Linked DNA regions of Homo sapiens: region 2 is linked to region 1. Evidence: promoter capture Hi-C in human tissues and cell types (Jung and others, 2019). All regions are on one chromosome and are shown on one strand. The core of a region is centred on a gene start or on the middle of the fragment in contact, and the rest is flanking DNA. Distances in the headings are between cores, read along the strand shown.

The links. Contacts are between HindIII fragments. The study calls those that stand out against the background at their distance.
Region 2: a fragment that was not itself captured here is called in contact with the fragment with the promoter of PTPRD in region 1 in 1 of the 25 tissues and cell types used here (dorsolateral prefrontal cortex).

What each region holds. Positions count from the first base shown.
Region 1 is chr9:10,609,179-10,617,025 of GRCh38, reverse strand. PTPRD (protein tyrosine phosphatase receptor type D) reads left to right here and starts at 4,024. Exons shown (of 46, transcript NM_002839.4): 1 at 4,024-4,338; 2 at 4,521-4,628. It overlaps PTPRD-DT (PTPRD divergent transcript), which reads right to left and starts at 3,820. Exons shown (of 3, transcript NR_110696.1): 1 at 3,600-3,820; 2 at 357-409. RefSeq lists a silencer at 3,870-4,079. The HindIII fragment of the contact is 2,966 bases long and covers 2,910-5,875 here.
Region 2 is chr9:10,069,524-10,077,370 of GRCh38, reverse strand. All of the region lies in intron 3 of PTPRD (protein tyrosine phosphatase receptor type D), which reads left to right. Among named protein-coding and RNA genes, the nearest start is that of PTPRD, 540 kb to the left of the region's middle. The HindIII fragment of the contact is 5,569 bases long and covers 793-6,361 here.

The sequences.
Region 1 (7,847 bases), core at 2,775-5,274:
TCTCATTGACAAAACCCAAACAGAAACCAGGGGACAAGGGAAACCAGGTTAGTACAATACCTAAAGATTAATCCATAGAGCACAGAAAAGAGCACATGAGGGGTCTGAGGTTGGGATTAAATAGAGGGGCAGGGATAGAAAGCTACCAGCACAATAAGTGAGAAAATAAATGTGTACATTATGTCAAAACCTGAAGCCTTTAGATTGTGTGTAATTTAGCATTAGCTACATCATGATTTCAGTGGAATGACATCTATACCTTGTACCTACAACCATCTCAAATATGACTTCATTAAGACTCCTTAAATTGGATAATTATATAGACAACTCATTGAATAATTATATAGTCAACTCACTTTTTCCATTGTGTTGTAAGGTTTCCTGAGCAGCTTTCTTGGTATCCAACCATCTATAAGAAATTGGGTAAATTATACCCATTTAGTCAATTGAAATTGTACTTCCATTGACTAAATAAAAGTTAAAGAGCAGGAGATTATCTTTTCCCACATGAAATAAGTATGAGCAGTTTGATTCATTAAGTACATGGTTTTCTGCATGATTTTATGTTATCAATATAAAATTGTTTCTACTTGTAGTTTCTGCCAAGTGGCATAACTTTAGAACGAAAAGTGGAGAAAAGGGAGAATAAATTAAGTGAACACCATTACTGCAGACTGAGGCAAAGCAAACAAACAAACAATAGTCAAAGTGTGAGAGTCTACTGCTGACAAATCCAACCTACCTACAGATTGGGCTTCGAACACCTCCTAGATCCTTGTCTCCTTTCCAACAGGTTACTTGCTCTCCCTGGCTTCCTTATTACCCTTTTATCTCTTTATTCCATTCCACACTATGGAATTATCTCTTTATTCAATTCCACAATATGGAATTATCTCTTTATTCAATTCCACAATATGGAGTGCTGTATAATTAGGAAATTTCCTCATGATGCTCTCAAAACATTTAAATAACATACTAGAACAGGAAATTATTGCTGTGTAGTTGCTATTTATGTATTGCAAATTCTAATTTAAAAACTGAGTCAGGAAGGAAATTACTTATTTCCCTCAAAAATCCAAAATACAAATGTAAATTTTGAGATTTCTTCTCCTTACAGCAGGCTGTTAAAATTAATTATAAGCCTATATATAACAAAGCTAAATGTAGATTTGATAAATAAAGAAATGTGTTAAAATAAAGGGAACCTCAAAGCAACTGATATTCAGGACCATGCTTTGTTGGCCCAATTTCACTGTCCCTTTTTGGTTATTTTTATCTTACATTTGTTATGGTTGTTTTAAACACGTGGTCCACTGACAACAACCAATTCAGATAGGTTACTGATTTTTAAGAGTAAATATATGGCAATAACTTAAAGCGGACATTTGCATCTGCCTTTTTATTGAAGAAGGAGAAATAAATTATAATGTTACAGGAAGTGTAGCTAGGTAGTTAGATAATAAAATTTTCTTAACTCCTTAAGCTTGGTGCAATCACCTTCAAGTAAGATATCTCAATCCAATTCTCAGATGTAATTAATAATAAAATCTCTACAATAAGCTAATCCATTGAACATTTGTGATATTATTATGTGGGGAGGAGGTAGGAGGAAGGGGATTGAGTATAACACTGATTCTTCCATTGTTTAAAATATTCTTTGTTTTCCAGAGGACACCAAAGGATAGTTGTACAGGAGCAAGAGTAAATCAGCCCCAGGGAGCACTGTCTCTGTGAGATCCCAGCCTGGAGCTGAAGTAGAGAAGAGTTTCAAGTTGCTGAACACCCCCATGCAGCAGTAAAAAGATATAAGATATCGACACGCTCAGCTGCATCTTGTTAAAAGCTTCCTGCGGGTTGGCAGAATGAAATCTTTACTTAAAACACACAAACTATTGTCAAGGGAAAGATGGAAAAGAGAATACAGTAAAAGGGCCAAATGCTTTGCTTAACCCACCAGAAGCAGTAGAAAGGGAGAGGTGGTCACGTTGTCTTTGCAACAACAACAACAGAAAAGGTGACTAACACAACCACATCAGCCTCCATCTGCTCTTCCCATGGTTTCAAGATGCATTATTTCTTTTATTATTAATTACTTGTGTTTCTGAGGGAGGACAAATATATTATTGTGACTAGCAAGAGAGGAAATCATTTCTGCTTCTACTTGGCATTAAGTACAGTAGTGTATGTAATGACTGAGGGATGGCAGGAAACAGAGCGGCATCATTGAGACCAGCCTCCCTCCTACCAATCCACTCCAACTCGCCCTTGGTAGTCAGAGGCTGCCTAACAGAAAGTTCATGTAAAACCATTATTGAACACTGACAGGAAGGAACTGAGACAGGAGTGAGTGGTGTGTATTTGTGCAGAAAGGGAGAAGGAGGGAGGGAGAGAGAGAGAATATGAGTCAGTCATCATCATCTTGGGGAGACAGCACCGTAAGAGGGGCAAGTGCTTTGTATAATTACAAAAATATGTACACATGCACACACACTTGCACATATGGTGTAATTTTTTTTCGTTCATATCTTGTCATTTCCAAGAACCTTTTTAAGTGATGATGACTGTTTGTGCATGGGAACCTTCTTGGATGGGTAGGCTCCGTGGCTTTAGGGAGGCTGAGCAGGGAACCCGGCAGCGCGTGGGTTCAGGAGAAGGGTCCCTTTTAAAGAGCAAAGGGACACAGCAAGCAGTGGAGAAGGTATGAAAAGAAAAAGGTGAAGGGACCCTGGGGAAAATTCCACCTATAGTGACTAAGCTTTATTTCTCTTCGGGAGAAAGTGACATTTCTGCGATTAGATCATTGACATATAAGGAAAGTAGATGGATAACTGGTTTTTCGTTGTTCTTTTTTTATTTGTTTTCTTCTACAGTGCTTACAGAACCTTTGACCAGATGGTACCTGGAATGCTCTGTGTTGCATATTACAAACAGGATAATTATTTTGGCTTTTTAGAAAACGCACCGACATGGTGACATTGCTCTCTGTTTATCAAGAGACAGAGCATTTGTTGCCTATAGCTGTATGCTCTGATGAGACATGAAAGATAGTAAAATGACAAAAAGCTTCCTGCTGTTTTTCTCTCATCCTGCCCCTTCTTCTCCCCCCAGCTCCAAACCTTATTTCTAGTTTCGCTGGGGGTCTAAGTTCCTCCTCCCCTGTCTCCCGAGTCTGTGGTACACCACATCTGATGCACTCCGATACCCCACTCTACCTTGGGGTAAGGAGGAGGTGGGGAAGAATCCGCTCCCTGCATCCATGTCCTCTCCTCTGCAGCGAGGCATATTCTCAGCAACTCTTGTACAGGTTTTCCCTTCTCAGCTACCACCTTGGCAGAGCTCTATCCCTCCCTCAAGCCCAGCCAGACTGCCAAGCGCCCCGACTGAAAACTCCATCCAGCTCAGCCGAAGTACACCCCCTCCGCCAAGCAACCCCTGTGCCCCTGCCCTTCACCTCCCTAAGTCTGCTCTTCATAAGCATCGATTCCATTGCAAATCAAATGTACGTCCCCCAGCTATTAACACCCACTACCCCTTAGGTGTTACCGACAGCCTCCCTCGGAAAATAATAATAATAATAATAACCGAAAGCACGCGAACACCTGAAGAAGCACAGATCGGGATCCGCATCTGGACCAGTCCTCTGTGGCTATAGTGATGGGGAATAGCCTGTGCCTGACATATCCTCCTGTTCCCGCGCGAACCGCTTTACCCTGGATCCCTGGAATCGTGCCTAGGCACCCGGGCGGCGGGGTCCGCCCAGGCCGCGTCAGGCAGCTCTGGGCCGGTGGGTGCCGGGTCTCCCCTCCTCCCGCCCCATCTGGCGCGCCCGCAGCGCCGCCGCCGCCGCCGCTTCTCTCCCCAGCGGGCGCTCGGAGCATCCCGCGCCGCGTTCTCCCCGCCCCGGCCCCCGCCCGCCGGAGCGGGGCCCACGCCGCTGGCAGCCATCAAGTGGCTCGTTAAGGAAATGCAGGTGAGTGCGTGAGGCCGAGCGGCAGCTGCTGGAGACGTGGGGTGTGTGCCTGTGAGTGCGAGCGAGACGAGGAGGGAGCGCCAGCGAGCGAGCGAGCGAGTGCGGGAGCGGCCGCCTCGGCTCCCCGCCCAGCCGCGCCCGCAGCCGGCGGCCGGAGCGCGTGGGGGCAGCGCCTCGCCCCGACAGAGCCTCGCCTCCTCCTTGCCGTCTCGGCTGCTTCTCCGAGGAGCCGGGAGCCGCTCATCGGCCTCCCCAACCCTGCGCTCCCCTCCCAGCCCGAGTCCTCCCGCTGCTCTTTCTCCTCCTCCTCCCGAGCCTCCTCCCCTCCGGCGCGGCGCCGCCAGCCAGCCTCGGCGGGGAGAGTGCAGGTACTTTGCCTTCAGAATAATTAGCAGGACCCAAGCCGGCTTTCCGAGCGCGCTTTCTTTTTCTTCCTTTGCCCCCTCCCTCCGGAAAAGAAGATCCCACTTTTGAAACAATCAGAAATCGAAGCACCCCACCAAAGCCAAACCCTGACGGGCTGCTGTGCATGTGCCATCCCTTTTTGCAGTTTATTCTGGGCCTGTGTGGAATAGAAAGACAATTCTTTATTTGACTGGTAGGAAAGAAAAGAGAAGACTCCTCAGGGTTTCCAAGGAGGACTGGAGCGGCTGCTTTAGTAAGTAAACTGTGCTTCTGTCTTTCTTTTCTCTAAAGTGAAGCATATGCTGATGCTTTTCAATGCCCAATGTCCAATGCTGTGGACAGTTTATTCATTTTACCTGGGAATAACTTGACTTATATAACTTCAGTAGCTCCTATTTGAGAAGTGGTTCGCTAAGCATTTTTTTCTTTTTTTTTTTTTTTTGGAAGAGCCCTTAGAAGACTTCGATATGGGATCAGTATGGGCAGCCTTACTGGAAAACTGATTTTTAAACGTTTATTGTTCAAGGGCTATTGGAAGCCTGCTTTGTTAAACATTGGTTGGTTCTAAGATTTAAGGGTGGTTATCTAGAAAAAGCTTGAAAAATCTAACCCTACTGGCTCACTTCTCCTGCCACCTTCAACCTCAGCCCTAATCCATGCTAACTCCCACCCTACTCTGACTTCAGTTGGTTGGTTGTTTTATCTTTAGTTCTGAAAAGCTCTAGAAAAAAAAAGGGGGGGGGGGCGGAAAAGGGAAAGTTAATAAGGATGGTTTGAAAGACCAGATGAAAATTCTGTTGCGATTTCTTCATGCCTGTAAGGAGATAATAATTGGAGGAAAATCCTGGAACTAGAATAGTTGGAGAATTAGAATGAACTTAATTTGGAGAGAGAATGTGAAAAATACTTTGGAGAGGGCAGGGCTGAGACTGTGACTTTGACACAGCGGGTTATAAACTCTGACAGGGCTCAGCAGCCAGTGACAGGTTTAAGGTGTCTCCTAAGGCTGAATATCTCTGCATCAAAAACTTTTGCAGGCAGTATTCCTCTTGGGGCTAACATCACCATGTCAGTAGCTGTAGCATTTCTTTTTACAGAAGTAGGACACTCTTCTTTCTACAAAAGGGTTAATAAGTTCATTATACATATATATAAAAAACATGTAGTCTAACATTTGCCAATATTTTGTAATATCTAAATAAAACCTTTGTGTTATGTCAGGAAAAATATAGTTGACTCAGTTTGTTTTGCACAAGAGGGAGAGAATCAATAACATTTCAGCATTTTTTTCTTTATCACTGCCAAATGGATTCTGAATCTAATTCTTCTTGCATTGTTACATATACAGTAGATACAGTAGGAGTTGCAACTTAGACAAAACAGACCTGATTTTTAACAAATCCTAAGTTTTTTGACATGGTAGTACTTATACTGACTAGAGTCTAATAGTGATTAGAAAAAGTTTATCCCTTTTATCTTTAACTGTTAATTTCTTTCTCAGTATAATACATACTTTTTAATAAAAACCCCTTATAAGTTAAAAACCAGATTGAAAAGTAAAAGTACTTATCTCAGAGAATTTCTTTCAATAAAGCAGCTTATTATTAATTATACCTAAGGGCTTCCTTGTATTTAATTGTTGATAATGGTAGAATGAGTATATTTTTACCTCCTTATTTACTTAAGTGAGTATATAAAAGCATCTGTATTCATGGGGGATTGGTTTTAGAAATTATAAGAGTAAGCTAAGTTACAATTATTACAAAAAAGTAGAGATGTTTTAGAGTTGTTTTGATTACTCAGTGTTGAAAGCTCTAAATATCTTGGGCCATAAGTTTTTAGGGTAATGAGACAGGACAATAGAACAGTTAATGAATTGGTTGACATGAAGTTATCATATATGGAATCATTTGAGAAAGATGTGTCATTGTTTCTTGATTATTATTTAATTTCTTATCCAAATGAGTTTTCTTAGACATATTACTGCTCTTAGCTAACATTTCTATTATTGGTTTAAAAATGAATTTAAGTGATTTAAAATGAAGCCCTTGGCTGATCAGATTTGGATTATAGCACATAACCTCTACTCATTTCTGACCTCACATGTCCGAGAGGCTATCTGATATTTGGAAAAAAAAAAACTTAATTATTGAAAAATAAAGGGGAAGATTGTACCTAAGTAGGGCAAATTTAACAGTGGTTCAAACATGTTATTACATATATTAGTATAGGACATATTTTACACAGTAGAGAAGACATGACAGATTTGTGCATTCTTTTTGAATTTCTGAAAGCAAATATTTGTAAGTAACATTAAAACTAACCTGACATACATTCTGCCTCTGTTGTAATTATGTCATAGTGCTAAGGAAAATAGCCTGAATGAAAGCTGTTTCTAGTAAAGCTTGCACATGCATTTGATCCCTGTCTCTATATAATAACAGATAAAAATGGCAAAGCAGGATGGGTGATTAAATTGTCACCTTTTTGGCCACCAGCTCTCTGTCCTGTACAGAGGTAGTTGCAACTTTAAAGTTGAGAAGAAAGTTGCTAGTGTCAGCAGTAATGTGTTTTATTATGCAATTGTTCTTGTTATTCAGATCAGATAATGGCCCGATGAAATACATAAGCAGTCTGCAGGGAATGAATGATTAATTCCTCTTACATGTGCTTACTAAAGGGGTTCTTTCTAATAAAGTGCTGTATACCTGCATTTGCTTTCAGTTGCTGTTGGTGAAGGCAAACATGTTTTTCTTTTCTTTTAATATTAACATAAAATTTACAAGCCTACTCTTGTAACTATAGCAACATAAAGATGATTTTGTTGACCACATGGTCTTATATTTTATGGAACTCAAGGCATGATTACTATTTACTAAATACACTTAATTTAGAAAGAAAACAATGCTAATTAGATGTGATATTGGAAGGTTGAGCTATTCATAACTTTTTTTGCTTTATTCTTTATGGAATGCCATGATATCTTTCCTGTGTATTACTAGTAGGATGCAGGAATCCAAATGTATGCAGGTGCAGAGTTCTGCAAATGCACATTTTTCTTTAATAATGCTGGAGAGTAAGTGAAAAGCTAAAATATTGCTAGTTATATCCAAGAATTAGCAGAATATTATGTTAAAATTTTAGGAATGACTAATAGTGCACATGACAATTATTGTGGTTACCACTGGTGTAAACTGTTCTGCAGTTAGAGAAGTGTGATTAATGTAACTTTACAATTCTAAAACTGGATTATGGTAGAGGGTGGTGAGTGAACAGAATTTATATAATAATTTGATAATAGGTGACCTGAAATGCATGTTACATGTTTGAAACTTACCTACTTAATGTCTTTTTAGAAAATTCTGAAAAAAATGTGATTTTCAAAATTACAGAATTAAATATATCTATCCATGTGTCTCTATTGATCTAGCTACTATCTATGTATGTCTCACATTTAATGCAGCAAATAACA
Region 2 (7,847 bases), core at 2,328-4,827, 540 kb after region 1:
AAATGAATTTTGAGAACCACAAGTTAGGAAGCTAGAGTACATTTGCATGAATTACTGGAAATATGTGAAATCTCTGATACATTTTACAGAAAAGTAACATGTTTAGATGTGGATGTTAGGGATAATGGGAGAAAGGGGTGAGCAGGCAAAGGATGATAAAGTATTACAAAAAAAGCTACAGGTATTGCTAGGTTGATAATTCATTCACATAATTGTTACATAACATTTTATCAAGCACTATGTATAAGGAGTGGGAAATAAATAAAATGAACGTGAAGTTTTATTCGAACCACAATTTGTTTGGTGTCTGTAGTAAGTCTCCGGATGTAATGTGTTTTACCTTCAGCTATGGACATCAGATTTTGTTTTGCAAGGAAAAGGGAAATAATGTTGAAGTCAGGTTGTACATAGTGTGTACCAAGCTATATGGCTAAGCAATGAAAGAATCATTGGTGCTGCAACATCTACTCTACAAATACAGCAATGGTCTTGGTTTCAAATTGACCTTCATGTTCGTAGAGCACCATTAGCTGTAATGTGCGCTAGGTTTATTTAGCTGTGAGGAAGGATATAAGATTGGAAAGAGAGCATGTCAGCGTGATTTTCTCAAATACATTTTCCTCTGGAGTTCTTACTGCCATCTTGGCACTGCTCCCCAGGCAGCACAAGGGGCATGCTCAGTTTTAAGGGTTGGGACCCCATGAGTACATGATGGTCACTTCAGCCTAGGCAAGGCTCATATATGACAGCCCGTGAGAGGAGCTGACAGACCTGCTCAGGGGCCATGCTTTTTCCAAGAAGCACCAAACAGTGAGGTTAAGGCTTCTCATTTACTGCATGTTTTTATAGAGTTTTATCATATGGACCTTCAGGGTCTATATATCCATTCAGGGTCCTCCCAGTACAGATGCAGTCCTCCAGTCAGAGTTAATAAGCAATGATGCCTAGTAACACAGTTTCCTTTTCCTACATTTCCAAAGAAACAGAGCTGAGGAAGGTAAATCTGAGAAAATCTTCCCACAGAGATAAGGTTTACACCCGCTCTTAAACCTTTCTCCCCAGCTGGTTTTTGAGCAGTATAGGATGATGAGTACCGTGGTTCAAGAAGATAGCTTGCAGCATGTACGTGGAAGTACTGGAAATAAAACTGGAGATGAGGGAGATAGAGGCGGCAGGCAGTGCAAGACGTAGACCCTCAAACCTGCACTCAAGAAGCCAGAGGGCCACATACAGTACTTTAAATGACAAATAATGGGAATATGAAGATGTTGGCAGTGAAAATGGGAAGAGGGAATAGATCAGGTAACCATTATGGAGGTACTGAGGCCAGAATTTAATAACCTTTGTCAGGAACTCAAAATAGATTATTAGTTTAACTGATTCAGGGCGTACTCTGAGTAGAATATTTTTGCTACTCCATGGAAAGAAAACTGTGAGTGTGAAGACTTCTTTAAAGCATTTATGTAGAAGAAAATATATTCATAACATATCGTTATAGAAGATGAAGCAGATATCTTGGATAGATGCTTCTAGAAATGAAAAGAACCTCAGCCCTTGGTTATTTGAAAAATTAGTGTGTTTAAAATTTAAGGTAGACTCTAAAGCTTCAATTTTACAAAGATCCTGGAATTGTATGTCTAATATAATAACTCACTTTTATCCAGAGCACAACCAATTTTCCCCCTCCCCCCCAGAAAATGAGAGAAACAAAGATGAAAAAAATGATGTATTCATTGAGCAAATATATACTGAGTGCCTTCTATGCACAAAGTACTGTCTAGACACTTGTGATTTATCAGTGAACAAAACTGATTAAAATCCCCCATAATCATAACAATAAATACATGATGGATTAATATAAAATATTATTTATTTCATAAAATAATAAAGTATATAAATCAAATAAGTTATAAAAAGTTATATCAATAACAAGATGAGAAATACTGTGGAAAATGAATGAGCATGCCATAAAGTAAGTAAATTACTTTCATAGTTGGCTTAGATATGTTTTGAATCTGTTTTTTCACAATTATCCTGGAGACTATAAAAATAAAATGTGGAAAAAAGTAGATGTCAAATAATGTACTAAGTTTTTGCTTTGTAGTTAATAATAATTATGCACCTTCGGGGGGTCTCATTTTTAGCAAGTAGGTTTTCAGTAATAAAAATGAATGTAGGTTATTGCAAGTACTCAGCAAAAGATACAAGCCTTATTTCACTGTATTTTATTCGTTGACAGAAATGAATATAATCCACTGAAAATCTTCATGTGATGCCCATATCAATATTTGCATCAATAACTTATTACTCCATGAAATCCACACAGAATGAATTTATAAATTTGGGATTTATTCAAATTTTATTTTTCTCTCTCTTCCCCTATCTCCTCACTTATTGAAAGGAAAGGACACCTAAATCGTTTGACTAAGTAATATTTCTCAAAAACTTCTGGAGAAATAAAAATCTTTCATAAAGAGGTTTAGGGAAGCAATGCTTCCATCATTACTAGAGGCCTGAAATGGTGGCTATATTACAACATTTCAGATGGCTTCGGATTGATGCTATATATACTGTGTGTGCTTCAGCAGAGCTTATCATTTCCTTCCCACTACTCTGGTTTGGAAACATAAGCTGAATGCACAACATGTGCAGGAAGTTCACAGGAGCCCACTCTTTCCTCTAAATCAGAGCTGGTACAGAGGAATTTCTGAATAACCTCAAAAACTGGTGACATTAACTGCTATCCATGGGCTTTAGTGGGATCAGAGAAAGCATCATGAAATCAAGTGAAAATAGAATGTGTCTGTGCATTATTTTTTTCTGAAAAGAGCATCCAAAACATTAATCAGATCCTCTAATGTTCTCACACCTTTTAAAAATAATAAATACTACTCCTCTGTCAGCTTTAGAAGTTCCAGAGATCCAAACTGAGCCAATAACACCCTGAGTACATTGATGCATGATGAGGGACTGGAATAGAGCCATATTCTTTTATTTCTGTGTTTCTAGACATGGCAGTGGCTTTGGATTTGGTCTCACAAACTGCAAGCTATTTTGCATTGCTGTGGATATTATAGTTATCTAAACATTCTCAGGCCACTATAGGAGCCTGCAGAGATGAGAAATAAAGCCAACTGGCCCATGGTCTTAAATGGCACATAAGCAGGCCAATGAGAGGAGCCAAATATTGTATGATGCCATGATTCTATCCAGTAAACATCGGCAGAATTGAGTAGGCCATTTGAATAACTGAAATTGTGGTGGGTATCTGAAATACCTCCACGCAAATTCTGTGACAGCTTACACAAGGTAATGTTTCACCCTGGAGCATATTTATTTGGTGATTATAAGCATCACAGTATTTTATGTGCACTTTACCTCTTATCAAGAATACTTGAAATTTCTCTTTAATTCAATTTTCTAGCTATGCTGGTTTCAAAAGTTATGTCAGTCCATACAATTTATAAACTATTAATGTATATTTTAAGAAAATTAGTCACTTTTTGAAAAATCTTTCAAAAATTCTCAGAACCCAGTATAGTAGTTCACTCACAACAGGGAGTAGAGGATAAATGTGACATAATCTAGTTGAATAATCTGGCCCTTGTCAATAAGAGGCTTTTAGTTCCTCAACTATTGGCACATGTCAACGATGTAGAAATGAGTCATTGTCCAATGCATGCTGATGAGACCTCTTTCCTCATAGTAGGAAGACCACTGGACTCAAAGGCAAAGGAACTAGACAGGGGAACTAGTCACCAACCATCTTCCAACTGCCATCTTTCAGCTTTGGGATTTTTAGCAAATCAAATATTTCTTTCTCTTTTATTAACTAAAGTGCATGCTTACTGGGATTTATTTAATTTTTACCTAATGTTATTTCTTTATTCTACTATCACATCCAGAATACCGTTTTTCATTATCATGTCTCTGTAGGCTCCTCTTGGCTGTGACAGTGACAGACAACTTTATCAACTATAGTATAGTATTTATGTGAAATTTCCTTTGCTTTTAGTTTTAGAGACAACATTCATTTCCAAAGTTACTTATGGCAGCCCCTTCTGCTCACCCTACTCCCTTTAATGAGATTGTTTCCTGAATTTGTAATACAGAGTCTTATGTTACAGCCTGCATTCCATCCTGGTATCCCACAACTATATATATATCCCATTACAGTATCATAAGGTAAAGTTTCACTGCCCTAAAACCTTGTGGGCTTCATCTATTCAACGTTCTCCTCTCCACTAAACCCCATATAACCACTGATTTCTTTACTATCTCTATAGTTTTACCTGTCACCATTTTGGACTGGTTTGGCTCACTTAGCAAAATGTATTAATCGATATTTTGTATGGCTTAATAGCTCATTCATTTTAAGTTGAAGTATTCTACTCTATGGATATACCACAATTTGCTTGTCTATTCACCTACTGAAGGACATCTTGGTTGCTTCCAGTTTAAGGAAGTTATTAATAAAACTGCTATAAACATTTTATGTGGCTATATATTTTCAAATCAGTTTAGTAAATAACTAGAAAGTGATAATTGGATCGTATGATAAGACTTCATGTAGCTTTGCAGAAAACTACACAACTATCTTCCAAAGTGCACCAATCAGTGCTCTGTAAAAACGCCCCAATCAGCGCTATGTAGCTAGCAAGAGGATTGTAAAATGCACCAATCAGTGCTCTGTAAAATGCAACAATAAGCACGATCCTAAAAGCAGTCAATTGCAGGGAGGATTGGAAAAAGGGCACTCTGATAGGACAAAAATGGAACATGGGAGGGGACAAATAAGGTAATAAAAGCTGGCCACCCCAGCCAGCAGTGGCAACCCGCTCATGTCCCCTTCCATGCTGTGGAAGCTGTGTTCTTTCGACCTTCACAATAAATCTTGTTGCTGCTCTCTCTTTGGGTTCGTGCCATCTTGAAGAGCTATAACGCTCACTGCGAAGGTCCATGGCTCCATTCTTGAAGTCGGCAAGATCACGAACCCACTGGAAGGAACCAACTCTGGACACACTATATACTCACTGACAATTGACATGATCAGTTTTTTATTTTATTTTATTTTAGCTACTCTGCTAGATATGTAGTGATGGCTCATTGTTGCTTTAATTTGCATTCCTCTGATGCGAAATATTGAGCATATTTTCATATACTTAACTTGCCACCTATATCTTTTGCTTATGTTTTGAATGGCTTTATTTTCTTATTGATGAGTTTTAAGAATTATTGTATATTTCATATACAAGTATATTATTAGATATGTAATTTGCAAATATATTCTCCCAGTCTATGTTTAATCTTTTTCTTCTCTTTTACAGAGTATAATTAATTTTAATTAAGTAAACCTTACCAATTTTTTCATCATTTATACTATGTGTGCTAAGTAGCAAATACACAGGATCTCTTCATTTACAGAATATATAATTTAGTAGATAATAATTATTTTAAAAAAACGAAAAAAATTGAAGCAAGATACAGAAACATATCAACATATATCAGCTTGTTCATTTTATAATTCTCATAATTGTCAAGGTGTATGATTTCTGGTCATTGATTATCTCTGTTTTTTTTCCCTGAAACTAAGAATATGAGTCATTACTCATATGCACCATTCTTATGGTGTTATACCTAAACACTCATCACCAAATCAAGTCACATAAATTTTTCTCATGTTTTATTCTAGAATTTTTAGAGTTTTAGACTTATTTTTAGACCTACAATCCTTGTTTGAGTTAATTTTTGAGTTTTGAGTTATAAAAGTTATTAGCTCTATGTCTAGTTTCTTTCCTTTTTTTGCATATAGACATACACATTTCAGCACCATTTCTGGTAATGATTTTCTCCACTGAAGTGGCTTTACTCTTTTTTCAAAGATGGGTTGACTATATTTGTGTAGGTCTATTTCTGAACTCTGTATTCTGTTTCATTGATATGCATGTATTCTTCCACCAATATCCCACTGACTTGGTTACTGTAGCTCTACGGTAAGTCTTGAAATCAAGTAGAGTGAGTCATATAACTTTGTTCCTCATGTCCACTATTGTTCTGGATATCCTATGCCTTCTCCCTTTCCACATAAATTTTACAATCAAGAATCAGGTTATCCATATATACAAAATATCTTGCTTGGATTTGAATGAAAATTGTGTTAGATCTATATTCATGTAGGGAAAAATTGACATCTTGGCAATATTGTTTGAGTCTTCCAATCTGTAATCATGAAATCTCTCTCCATGTATTTAGATTTTCTTTGATTTCTTTCATCAGAGTTTTGTAGTTTTTCACATACAGATTCTGTACATCATTTGTTAAATTTATACCACGTATTTGATTTTTGTACTATCATAATCTTTTCTTACATTTGAAATTCAAATTGTTCATTTCTCATATGGAAGAAAGAAGTTGATGTTTCCCTAATTACCATTTGTCCTGAAACTTGCTGTACTCACTTGCTCATTCTAGGGATTTTTGTGGACTCATGACTCTATTTTTTTAATCTACAAAATAAGGTAATCATAATCTCTTCCTGATAGAATAGCTTAGAAATTAACTGTAATATATATGATAGTGGCCGGTGGAGAGTCTTACACATAATAAAACTTACTAAATAGTCATTGAAAATTTCATTTTAACAAGAAACATTGATGTAAAGACTGACTGCATAATTTTTTGAAAAATCCTAAGCAAAATATTTTTTCTGATTAAATACTTCTGTTATTAATTAAAATGTAATCAAAGAAGTATATAGTAATGTGATTTTATGATCTCCATAAATGACTCTTTTAATTTTATTCAAATATAATGTTGTTAATTTATGCATGTTTTAATTATTCCTAGTGTTACTTTCTGTTGCAGCATTTCTTATGTAAAGAGCTGAAAATCTTTCATAGAAATGCATAAATTATTGTGCTAAATATTACTCTCAATGCTACAAAGATGCTGAACCCAACTTAAAGAAATTACAATCTGTAATTAATTTTATTGAACAAGAGGTACATACAAAGGTTAGAGAAAAACTTTATAATCCTCTATCTTTGACTTTGTCATTTCTTTGAATACTGTTTAAGTAATTAAGATAAACAGTAATGAGGGAATGGAAGAGCTTGAAAAGCTGCAGGGTCAAAAATGGTGCAATGGACAAAAAAGTGGACAAAACAGACAGTTTATTGCCTAAGCCAGAAAAGCCAACATAAAAACCAATTTCCTCTCTGTGCCCAACTGGCCCATATATTAGTCCTATGTTGGTAATTTCCACTTCTACTGAGCAAGGGAATTACCTTTTTTGTTGTTATTAATCTTTGACATTCCCCTGCTTCACACCAAAAATTTGGAATCAGTAGGTCTTGGTTTCACCCCAAGAATATGTGTTTTAACAATAATCAGTGTGTTCATGGCACATATTTTGAAATAGTATCCTAGAGCATCATTTATACTATGTGTGCTAAATAGCAAATACATAGGATCTCTTCTTTTATAGTATATATAATTTAGTAGATATTAATTATTTTAAAAAGCAGGAAAAATTGAAGCAAGATACAGAAACATGTCAACACATATCAGTTTGTTCATTTCATAATTGTCATAATTGTCAAAGTGTATGACTTCTGATTCACAATTATCTCTGTTTTTTCCCTAAAACTAAGAATATGAGTCATTACTCATATGCACTACTTCTTTTTAATTTTAAAATTGAAATCTTTTTGTATTGGGGTCAAAGTCAAGTCTCAGTGGCTAATTATGTTGAGTGTTAAGCTAACTGATCAAACACCAGACTTGTGCACCATAATTCTGAATAACTGTATCTGGTTTTGTGAGAGAAAGAAAAAGCATTATTTTCT